Regions from separate parts of the Homo sapiens genome. Here all the other regions are linked to region 4. Evidence: promoter capture Hi-C in 16 types of primary human blood cells and fetal thymus (Javierre and others, 2016). All regions are on one chromosome and are shown on one strand. Each heading gives the region's core, a stretch centred on a gene start or on the middle of the fragment in contact. The rest is flanking DNA. Distances are from core to core; before and after follow the strand shown. Region 1 overlaps UIMC1 (ubiquitin interaction motif containing 1). Region 2 has its middle 14 kb from the start of FGFR4. Region 3 overlaps UIMC1 (ubiquitin interaction motif containing 1). Region 4 holds the start of KIAA1191.

Region 1 (2,700 bases), core at 155-2,654, 600 kb after region 4:
CCAACTCCTTGTCATAATGCTCTCAAGGTGATCTACAGGCCTTCATTAGCAACTTTATCTTGTCTCAGTGATGCCAAAAACCAGTTATCATCTGATTCTAAAGCTTTAATAACCTTAATATAGACTAAGTTATGTGCCCCAAAGTGAATGTTTCTCTGAGTCCCTATTTTTGAGACTCTCTTGCTATCTCTATCAACCAAGAAGTCTCAAATACAGGCAGCTCCACCAAAGCTGTGTTCAATAGAAAATGTTTAACAAACGAATTCTTTCTACCCACATTTCCTGAAAGCAAAAGATTGAGAGGTAAAACTACAATCACAGGACCTACATTATTTGCCTATAAAATTAGTTGAAGTTTGTTTTTTAAAGGTACAATTATTTGTTGGCAAGGCTTCAGTGAACTAGATATTCTCATACATTGCCAAATGGAGAGAATACAAATTGTAACAGCCTTTCTGACAAGCAATTTGGCAATAAATATCAAGTCTTTATGTTCATAACTCTTTAACCCATCATTTTTATGGCTCATGACTAAGTACACTGATGAGGAATAAAGAAAAGTTTCATATAGAAAGATATCACAACTGAAATATCCAGCAATAGAAAAATGTTTAAAATATTATGGTAAATTCATAAACTGGAATATAATATAGCCATTAAAAGTGAAATATATAATTTAACATGAGAAAATGTCTACATGATATTAAAGATACAAAAATAATATGATCTGAACCATACAAAAAATAGGTAATATTCTTTAAACTTTTCAGCATTTTTTAACATCTCCAAGTGATTTTTTTATTAAAGTTAATGTCTATATGCTTACTAGGTTGTCTGCCTTGTCTGCTTTCACTGAGGACTGTCCCTCACCCCTCCCATTCCCATTAGCAGTGGGCTTACAGCCAATTTGACAAGTAACCTCCATCAAGCCACAGCTGACTGGGCTACTGACACCAAATGGGCCATAAATCCTTTCCTGAAAATTTAAAATTTGAATTGGGAGAGATTAAGTCTCCTGTAACCCATAATAAGTTTGAGAGCTATAGAATCAGTGTCTTCAACCTACACCTGAAAAACAAAAGCAAAAGAGTGCCAAGTCTGCAGGGAGAAAAATGAAGCAGACACAATATAACCATGAGATACAGAAAAATCAGATGCCCAGTACCTTCTTTGGGCCTGGTTATAGTTCTATTTTAAAACTTCTGAAGCCAGGCGCGGTGGCTCACGCCTGTAATCCCAGCACTTTCGGAGGCCAAGGTGGGTGGATCACGAGGTCAGGAGATCGAGACCATCCTGGCTAACACGGTGAAAACCCTTCTCTATTAAAAATACATAAAAAATTAGGCGGGTGTGGTGGCGGGCACCTGTAGTCCCAGCTACTCAGGAGGCTGAGGCAGGAGAATGCGTGAACCCGGGAGGTGGAGCTTACAGTGAGCCAAGACTATGCCACTGCACTCCAGCCTGCGCAACACAGAGAGACTCCATCTCAAAAAAAAAAAAAACTTCTGAGATACCTCGCTTCCTTATAAAGTCCTCTTTTAATTTTTTTATTTTTATTTATTTATTTTAGTAGAGACAAGGTCTCACTAAGTTGCCTGGGTTGGTCTCAAACTCCCAGGCTCAAATGAATTCTCCTGCTTCAGCTTCCCAAAATGCTGAGATTAGGCATTAGCCATTGTGCCTAGCCAAGTCCTCTTTTTAATTAAGCTAGCTTAATTCAGTTTACTGCAGCAAATAGTATTAACTGATAATACTACCTGTAGTATTTGGTGGTCTGGTCATGAAGTTAAGAGTCAAAGAACTTCAATCTAATTAAGACCATCCACTAGATTTTGACTTCTTCCAGGCTACTGCAAAGGCAGTACTTTCAAACTTGACACAACACAGAACTTGACACAAGTCTATGATGTAGAGCTCTGGCCCCTGGGATCTTGCAAGCTAACAACTTGAATTACAATAAATCATTAAGTGTCACTCTTTGGAGTTAATGTATTATTTTAAGAAGCAGCATCTCCGAATTGGAAAGAACAAACTAAACATTTATCATAAGCATCATGTAACTTTCCTTTGGAAAAGAAACCAGTCACTAAAATAACTATTTCTTAAAAATGCCTTCTTTGCTGATATACCTTCAGAAAAAAAATTTCTTTAAATAAAAATGCCTTCTCTTCCTAGACAACAATCTTTCCAGAATGTGAATGAAGATGGTTACTAGGAAATAATGATTCCTAGAGGCATCTCCCCAGTGAATGACCTTTGATCCCTTAGAGAGAATTACCAGTTGTTCAGTGCCTATGCTATGCATTGCAGTAGACATTTTACACAAATTCACTTTAATCATTAAAATAACTGTCGAAAGATAGGAATTGTTATTCCCACTGTATAGACGTGAAACTGGGATTCAAAGAGGTTAAGTGACTTGCTCAAAAACACACAAATTACTAAACACAAAAATCAGAACTCAACTCCAAATCCATGTTCTCTATTCTATGAAGCTCCTCAAAGTTACCATTTCTTGAACCTTTATCATAACACAAGAAAGACAGAATAACATAATAGTAAAACAAAACCAAAAGTCAAAGTCTGGTAACAGAAATAGCAAGAAAAAACAGTATAGTCATAAAACAGAATACTCTTTAAAATTACAATTTATATATAAAGAGTTTATATTATTGCTTTATAATATTCAAAGGGAAAAAT
Region 2 (2,700 bases), core at 4-2,503, 710 kb after region 4:
CACTTTCTCCCTCTGACCATCCATCCACCTAACCTCACCTCTCTGCCCTGTGCAAAGCCCTGTTACAGAGACAGGGCAGACCCGTCCCCGGCCTGTCTCTCCCAAGCTTACTGTTCATATATGCTGCTTCATCTGTCTAGGAATATCAGAACGCAGTTCTGTAAATGTTCAACTCTTCAGTGCAATGACCCCATTAGCCACTAGGTGGAGTCAGCTTCTTTTTTCTAGCAAGGTAGACCAGCCCTGGGACTTTACTGTTTGATTTAATGGGAAGAGAACAGGGTGACTTCACGAGCCCCTGTATATGCTATTTCAGTTAACCCTCAGGACAACTGGCAAAGACTTGATTTCACAGGAGAAAGTCAGGGACAAAGTCTTGCAGAGCTTACACAACCAAGAAGTAGCCTTGGAGAGAGATTTGATCTTAGCACTTCTGCTCATTCCCAAGGCCGATTTCCCCTTCCCTCAGGACATTTCCCTCAGGAGGCCCTCTCTGTTTGAGGGCTGTAACTTAGTCACCTGTCTAGAAGTACACCTGATGTCAGGCCAGCTCCACAGCCCTTCTTTTCCTTTTCTCCTTTGGGTGACAAACCTGCTCCATTCTCAGATCCTGTGGTTCCGAGGGACTGGCCCTGCTCTCTGATTCCAGGAGTGAGCCTGTGACCCGACTGAGTAATCACAGTCATAGTCTTCAGCTGTTAGTGTCCAGCATGTAAGGACAGCCTGCTTCAGAACTAAGCCAACACAGAGGAGGCCGGGCTCGGTGGCTCACACCTGTAACCCCAGTACTTTGGGAGGCCAAAGCAGGCAGATTACTTGAAGTCAGGAGTTCAAGGCCAGCTGGCCAACATGATGAAACCCTGTCTCTACTAAAAATACAAAAATTAGTCAGGCGTGGTGGCGCACGTCTGTAGTCCCAGCTACTCAGGAGGCTGAGGCAGGAGTATTGCTTGAACCCGTGAGGCGGAGGTTGCAGTGAGCCGAGATCACACCACTGTACTCCAGATAAGGAGAGACTCATTTCTGATGACTACCTGGATCCAGCTATGCCTGAAGCTAATATCCCCCAGGACTTTTTAGTTATGACTTTTCTTTAAGTCAGTTGAGTTTCTATAACTTGCAACCAAGATTTCTGCCTAATACTTGCTCCAGCTCCCCTTGTCAACCTGGGGACCTCCACTCATCCAGAGATCACTGGCCCCCAAGGCCAAGTTGGCTGCCCTTTGTGTTCCCAGATGCCCTGTGTTCCCCTCTAGCATAGCCCTTAATATGCTGTGTTACGATGATCTAATTCCCTGTCTCTTCTTTTAGACTAGAAACTGCTTGAGGGCAGGAATTGGGTCTTATGATACTGCATCCCTGGTCCCTAGCATAGGACTGTGCTTATGTTTTAATAACTGCTTGGTGATTGAATACATTAATGAATAAATGAATAAAAATGGGTATGGTCTGGTAGGGACCATTGCTGGGATTTCACAGGAAAGACATTTATTTTGTTTGTTTTTTGAAACAGCGTCTCACTCTGTCACACAGGCTGGAATGCAGTGGTGCAAACACAGCTCATTGCAGCCTCGACCTCACTGACTCAAGTGATCCTCCCACCTCAGCCTCCCGAGTAGCTGGGACTACAGGCGCACACCACCACACCCAGCTAATTATCTTATTTTTTGTAGACACAAGGTCCCACTGTGTTGCCCAGGCTGGTCTTGAACTCCTGAGCTCAAACGATCCTCCCACCTCGGCCTACCAGAGTGCTGGGATTGCAGACGTGAGCCACCGCACCTGGCCGGAAAGACTTATTGAGGGAGATGATCCTCTAGTGGTCATGAAGGTCAAAGGAGCCAGGTTGCTGGGGTGGGAGGAGGCTTAGTGAAAGGAACTAGAAGAGGCGAGTTGTGGAACACAGTTGATTGTTTCAATAATGGCCTCCCATGAATCATTGCCTCCCTGTGCCTGTGTCCTTTTGCAATGTGACTTTATCATTGCTCCCATCAAGATCGGGCGGGCGGGGGAGGGGGGGGGTCCATTTCCCAGTCTCTTGAATCTGAACTAGTCTTGTGAGTTGCTTTGATCAGAGAATTCAGTAACATGACTGTACGACTTCCAAGGTTAGGACTTAAGTGCTCATGCAGCTTCCGTTCCTGACCCTGTGAAAGGAAGTTTGGGCTAGACCATGTGGCGACCACAGACCAGGTAGAGAGAGAAGCCAACAGCCAGCTCCATACATGTGAGGGAGGACATCCCAGACCCTCTAGCATAGCCAATCCACAGCATAAGCAGAACTGCCACCTGAGCCCAGCTAATCACAGAATTGTGAGAAATAATACATTGTTTTAAATAATTAAGTTTGGGAACAGTTTGTGCAGTAAAGGCTCACAGAATCACTAGGTATAATAATCAGAAGCTTCCTAGTGTCTGTTTACCCTTCTTCCTATAATAAGCTTTTCTTTGAAAAACCCCACCCTCAGCTTATGTAGTCCGGGTGGGGAAGACCTCCACTCTCCTGGCTTTTGCCAGAACAGTTGAGAAGTTGCCAAGTGGGAATGTCTCGAGCCCAGAGCTGTTAGTGGCCTTCTTTGTCACTTCTTAGGGAGCACCTGTCATAGAGAAGAAGACAGAAGAGAGAATGAGTTTTGACCATACTGTTGGGAACCAGGATCAAGCTGTTTCTGGAGCCTGATTCACACCAGGACTTACAGT
Region 3 (2,753 bases), core at 17-2,516, 630 kb after region 4:
CCTCCATGCCCAGGCACAAATATTTTCTTACCTTTTAAAAATATATCTAATCATCATGGCACGAATATACCTATATAAAAAACCTGTACGTTCTGCACATGTACCCCAGAACTTAAAGACTTAAAGTCTAATAATTATAAAGTATCTCTACTGATAATTTGTAAGGCACAACCACAACATATGTATATTTACTTTTTTAACTATATGAATACTAATGTATGTATTTTGTGTACTGGAAAACATACAAAAATCTGCCAGGCGCGGTGGCTCACGCCTGTAATCCCACCACATTGGGAGGCTGAGGCAGGAGGATCACCTGAGGTCAGGAGTTTGAGACCAGCCTGGTCAACATGGTGAAACCCCGTCTCTACTAAAAATACAAAAATTAGCTGGGAATGGTGGCAGGCACTTGTAGTCCCAGCTACTTGGGAGGCTGAGGCAGGAGAACTGCTTGCACTCAGGAAGCAGAGGTTGCAGTGAGCCAAGATCACACCACTGCAGTCCAGCCTGGGTAACAAGAGTGAAACTCTATCTCAAAAAAAAAAAAAAAGAAGAAAGTATACAAAAATCAAAGTGTGAAAAGGATGAAATAGTAAAAAACACTTGGGTAATGCAGCATAAACATGCTTATTAAACACATAAACACTGGGAGGCTGGCTATGTCACTTTACATCTCTAGGTGGATTCCAAAAATTACACTCCAGCCTGAACAACACACTGAGACCCTATCTCAAAAGAAAAAATAAAAAAAGACAAACCAATATTTAAAAGAAGCAAGCGATATTAACAAACTTCACAAAAGCAGATATACTAAAGGCCAATAAGGAAAAACAAACAGATATTCAATATCATTATTCATCAAGAAATTACAAATTAAATTTACAATGGCCTAACACTGTATATCCATTAGAATGGCTAAAATTGAAAATAGTGACAATACAAATGTGGGCAGGAATGCAGAATATAATGAACCTCTCATATACTGCTAATGGGAATGTAAAATGGCATAACCACTTTGGAAAACTGGCAGTTTCTTTAAAAAAAAAAAAAAAAAAAAAGTATAACTGTCATGTAAGCCAGTCATTCTGTTGCAGGAATCTGGAGACTGGAGAGACCAATGCGTGGAACAGGAGGATTTTCTTTAGGTGGCCACCAGCCCAGCAGATTAACATCCAAAGGCTGAGCCCTCAACAAAGACAGGGCTTGACTTTTATACACACTTCTGAAAGGGAGTTGGCTAGTTTGAATGGTGCGGTGGGAATGTGACAGTGCGAAACTCATGGGGCAGGCAAGCAGGCTTACAGAAGCAGAACAAAGGCAGTTAATTAAATTGCGACAGGTCTCGCAACGCAGGCATAGCTTGTGATCATGCAGCTGCACAGTAGGGAAAACAGGAACTTACAAAACTTGTGAAACACAGGTATTTGTAGAAATAGTTATGAGAAAGGAATTTGTTTTCTTTTCTTATCCTCACTCTGGGGCGGGGTGTGGGGGGCAGTGTGCTGGGAGAGTATCTGGAGCTCATTCCTTTGGGCTCTGGCTTTTCAGATAGTGTTATCAAGGCTCTGCCAGGGCCCTGCCTATTGCTGGCCTTGGAGTGAGTCAGCCAAGTACAGGAAAACTTGTTTTTCTCTTTTTAACTTTGCTTCAATTCCACTACTATTAATTACTCAGTAGAAATGAAAACATTACCACCCAAAAACTTGTATATGTATGTTCATAGCAGCTCTTTCCATAATGTCAAACACCAAAGACAACCCAGATTCCATCAACAGATGAAATGACAACTTGTGGGCTGGGCATGGTGGCTCACACTTGTAATCCCAGCACTTTGGGAGGTCGAGATAGGCAGATTGCTTGAGGACAAGGATTTGAGACCAGCCTGGCCAACACAGTGAAACCCCGTCTTTACTAAAAATGCAAAAATTAGCTGGGTGTGGTGACATGCACCTGTAATTCCAGTTACTCAGGAGGCTGGGGTAGGAGAATTGAATTGCTTGAACTCAGGAGCCGAGACCATACCACTGCACTCCAGACTGGGTGACAGAGAAAGACTCTGTCTCCAAAAAAAAAAAAAAAAAAAAAAAAGGCCAGGCACGGTGGCTCACACCTGTAATCCTAGCACTTTGGGAGTCCAAGGCGGGTGGATCACGAGGTGAAAAGATCGAGACCATCCTGGCTAACACAGTGAAACCCCATCTCTACTACAAACACAAAAAATTAGCCAGGCATGGTGGCAGGAGCCCGTAGTCCCAGCTACTTGGGAGGTTGAGGCAGGACAATCGCTTGAACCTGGGAGGCAGAGGTTGCGGTGAGCCGAGATCATGCCATTGCACTCCAGCCTGGGCAACAAGAGTGAAACTCCATCTCAAAAAAAAAAAAAAAAAAAAAGGAATATAAAGTGGTACATCCACTTTGGAAAACAGTTTGGGAGTTTCTTAAAAAATAAGCATGTATCTACTACATTACCCAGCCATTTCATTCCTAGGTATTTACTCAAGAGAAATAAAGACGTGAATGTTCATCATAGCAGCCTTAGTCATAAGGGACAAAAACTGGAAATAACCCACATATCCATCAACATGTGAATAAACAAATTGAGACCTATCTCTACAATGAAAAATTGCTCAACAATAAAACGGAACAAACTACTGATGCATCCAACGACACAGATGAATCTCAAAGACATTATGGTGAGCAAAAGAAGCAATGTCTAAAAGACTACAAACTATGATTCTACCTGTATGAAACTA
Region 4 (2,719 bases), core at 199-2,698:
CTGGCTAATTTTTTGTATTTTTAGTAGAGATGGGGTTTCACCGCACTAGCCAGGATGGTCTTGATCTCCTGACCTTGCGATCCGCCCACCTCGGCCTCCCAAAGTGCTAGGATTACAAGCGTGAGCCACCGCGCCCGACCCCAGTTTTTTTTTTAAGCTATCTCTTACAGAAAGGCTATCCCAAATTTAAAGAGAAGGAAACTGGCCGGGTGCGGTGGCTCACGCCTGTAATCCCAGCATTTTGCGAGACCCAGGCGGGCAGATCACTTGAGGTCAGGAGTTCGAGACTAGCCTGGCCAACATGGTGAAACCCCATCTCTACTAAAAATACAAAAATTAGCCGGGCATGGTGGCGGGCGCCTGTAATCCCAGCTACTCGGGAGGCTGAGGCAGGAGAATAGCTTGAACCCGGGAGGCGGAGGTTGCAGTGAGCCGAGATCGAGCCACTGTACTCCAGCCTGGGCGACGGAGTGAGACTCGGTCTCAAAAATAAAAATTAAAAAAATTAAAAAAATGTTAAAAATAATAATAAAGAGAAGGAAACTAAAAATCAGAGGAGTTAAGTAAATTTGTCCACGGTCACAGATAAGTGGTCCGTGCGCAAGGTAGGTAGTTTCATGCCCAGTTTACAGGGGAGTTAAAACGAGGGCCTGAGAAAGTTACTCTTGTTTTTCAGCTTGCTACACCGTCCCTCTATCCCGATAGGACTCAGACAGAGCAAACAAGTTATTGATAGTTCTTCACTAACGAGCATCGCAAAGGCCGAATTCAGCCATCCTCCCAGTCCAGGGAGCATTCCCGCCCCAGACACGTCCCCTTCCCCTTTCCCTTTCCCTGTGCCCCCACCCCCCAGCTCACCGTCCCTCTGCCTCTCCTTCACAATATACAAGACGGTGCCGCCAGGATACGAAAGGCCGGCTGCTTCACCCACCCCTCCAGGCTAAGATTAGGGCCAGGACCCTAGCCGAAGGCGGGGTGTGGGGAGATGAGGTTGAGGACAAGCCGCGGGGGCTCGGGCTGGGCTGGTCCCACGAAGCGGAGGGGAAGCCCGTACGGGAGCTGCAGGGCATTCCCGGAGAGAAGCCCCATTACGGAGACCCCAGAGAGCGGAGCCAGGGAGGCAAGAGGCGACCCAGCCGAGCTCGAAGCCGGGATGAAGGGTTAAGAGGTGCGGGGAGAGGGGAGTGGCTTGGAGGGGCCCCGAGATCGGGCCTCGCCGGAAGCGCCCCTCCTGATCGCCAGAGAACGCAGCCCCAAGGGAGGGCCCAGGCCCGCCATCTGTTCACCTGTGATCCTGCTGCCGCGGGACTGCCTGCGGCCCGGAGTCCGGCACTAAAAAGGTTCCGAGGGCCCACGTCTCCCGAGAGGCTGTGGCGCAGTCTGGACCCAAGCCATTGTGAGAGCGGCGGCGATTTCGAAGGTCCCCAAGACCCACTAGGTAGCAGTACCACCCAGCGGGCAGGCAGCACTGCAGATAAAGCCTCCGGAGACCGCGGGATCTCGCGCGAGACTTGGCCCAGCGGAGCACAGGGCATGCTGGGAGTTGTTGTCCACGATCGCGAGACCCGCCCCCTCCCCATGCCCTTCGCCGCCCAGCGAGTTGTGGAGCCGCAGCTCCGAGTGTGGAATCCGCCAGCCCCGAGAGGAAACGCCACACTTCACCACCACTTCCTCAGCGCGTGTGCTGTGCCTGGGTCCGTGACAAGCTAAGGGAAGACGGAGGTAGCATAGTAAAATGACACCCACAAACCCAAGCCCTCAAGGCTCAAAAAGGGCTGCCAAGTGCGAGCACTTGTCATCCTGTTTTTCCCACTTCACGGAGGTGAAGCTGAGACTGGGAGAGATGAGAAGTCACTTCGATTAGCAAGCGGTGCAGTGAGCACGGACTGTCTCCCAAAACAGCGGGGTTAGGCAGGGTTCGTACTAGTAGCTGAACCAAAAAAGGGAACCGACCTCACCTGCCTCCCCTAGGGAAGGCGATCCTAATATCATTTCTCTTTTACATAAAGGAGAGTGAGGCTTAGAGGCGCCAGCTGAGGTGTCAGTCACATCCTGAAGGAAGACTTCTCTTATCCCTGAAGGGTTCACAAAGAAGGCGAAGCAACGAAGTTACAGCAGAATTTGCAAAAATCTATCCACGTTTCTACCCCAGTCCAAAGCTCGCCATCAAAACTCATCTCAGGAGAGCTATGATTGGTGGTGCAGGGTGAATGTCACATTTAGATTTCAGCATTTGAGGCTTCCAGCCGTACTGGCAGAACTGAGAGGCCTTGCTCATGCGACTTGAAACTTAAGCGCTGTTTCCAGACCAGGGTGCTTGAGTGCACTAAGAATTAAAGTCTTTGATGAATTCTATAATTAGCTTATCAACAGCACAATTACATTGCAGTATAATTGTGTGTATATGTGTGCGTGCGTGTGTGTGTTAAAGGTGTTCCTTTGTTAATTTGGAGCTTTTAAAATATGCCATATTTTTTAACCTCTGTGGAAGCAAAGCTGGCACCTTGCTCTTTATCCACCACAGGAAGGGATGTATATCACCTCTCAGTCAGAAAAGGAAGAAATAGCACTTTGCACCCTTATGTAGATCATAAGGTGGGATCATCTCATTTATTTCTTAGCCACAAATACATGAAAACTTAAGACTTTCCTGGAAGTTACTATTTGATTAAAACAACTTTTTCTGGCTGGGCACGGTGGTTCAGGCCTGTAATCCCAA

Evidence for each region. Contacts are between HindIII fragments. The CHiCAGO score rates a contact against its expected background, and 5 or more counts as called.
Region 1: a fragment that was not itself captured here is called in contact with the fragment with the promoter of KIAA1191 in region 4 in 5 of 17 cell types (naive B cells, total B cells, naive CD4 T cells and 2 more); the score reaches 6.3 in naive B cells.
Region 2: a contact is called between a fragment that was not itself captured here and the fragment with the promoter of KIAA1191 in region 4, in 1 of 17 cell types (naive B cells). The highest score is 5.1, in naive B cells.
Region 3: a contact is called between a fragment that was not itself captured here and the fragment with the promoter of KIAA1191 in region 4, in 1 of 17 cell types (naive CD4 T cells). The highest score is 5.3, in naive CD4 T cells.

Annotation. Positions count from the first base shown.
Region 1 is chr5:176,963,934-176,966,633 of GRCh38, forward strand. All of the region lies in intron 6 of UIMC1 (ubiquitin interaction motif containing 1), which reads right to left. Among named protein-coding and RNA genes, the nearest start is that of UIMC1, 41 kb to the right of the region's middle. The HindIII fragment of the contact is 2,607 bases long and covers 102-2,700 here.
Region 2 is chr5:177,071,816-177,074,515 of GRCh38, forward strand. It overlaps a transcript of ZNF346 not described here. Among named protein-coding and RNA genes, the nearest start is that of FGFR4, 14 kb to the right of the region's middle. The HindIII fragment of the contact is 2,298 bases long and covers 105-2,402 here.
Region 3 is chr5:176,993,474-176,996,226 of GRCh38, forward strand. All of the region lies in intron 1 of UIMC1 (ubiquitin interaction motif containing 1), which reads right to left. Among named protein-coding and RNA genes, the nearest start is that of UIMC1, 12 kb to the right of the region's middle. The HindIII fragment of the contact is 4,492 bases long and covers 1-2,753 here.
Region 4 is chr5:176,360,316-176,363,034 of GRCh38, forward strand. KIAA1191 reads right to left here and starts at 1,449. Exons shown (of 9, transcript NM_020444.5): 1 at 1,287-1,449. RefSeq lists an enhancer at 1,205-1,524. The HindIII fragment of the contact is 14,901 bases long and covers 1-2,719 here.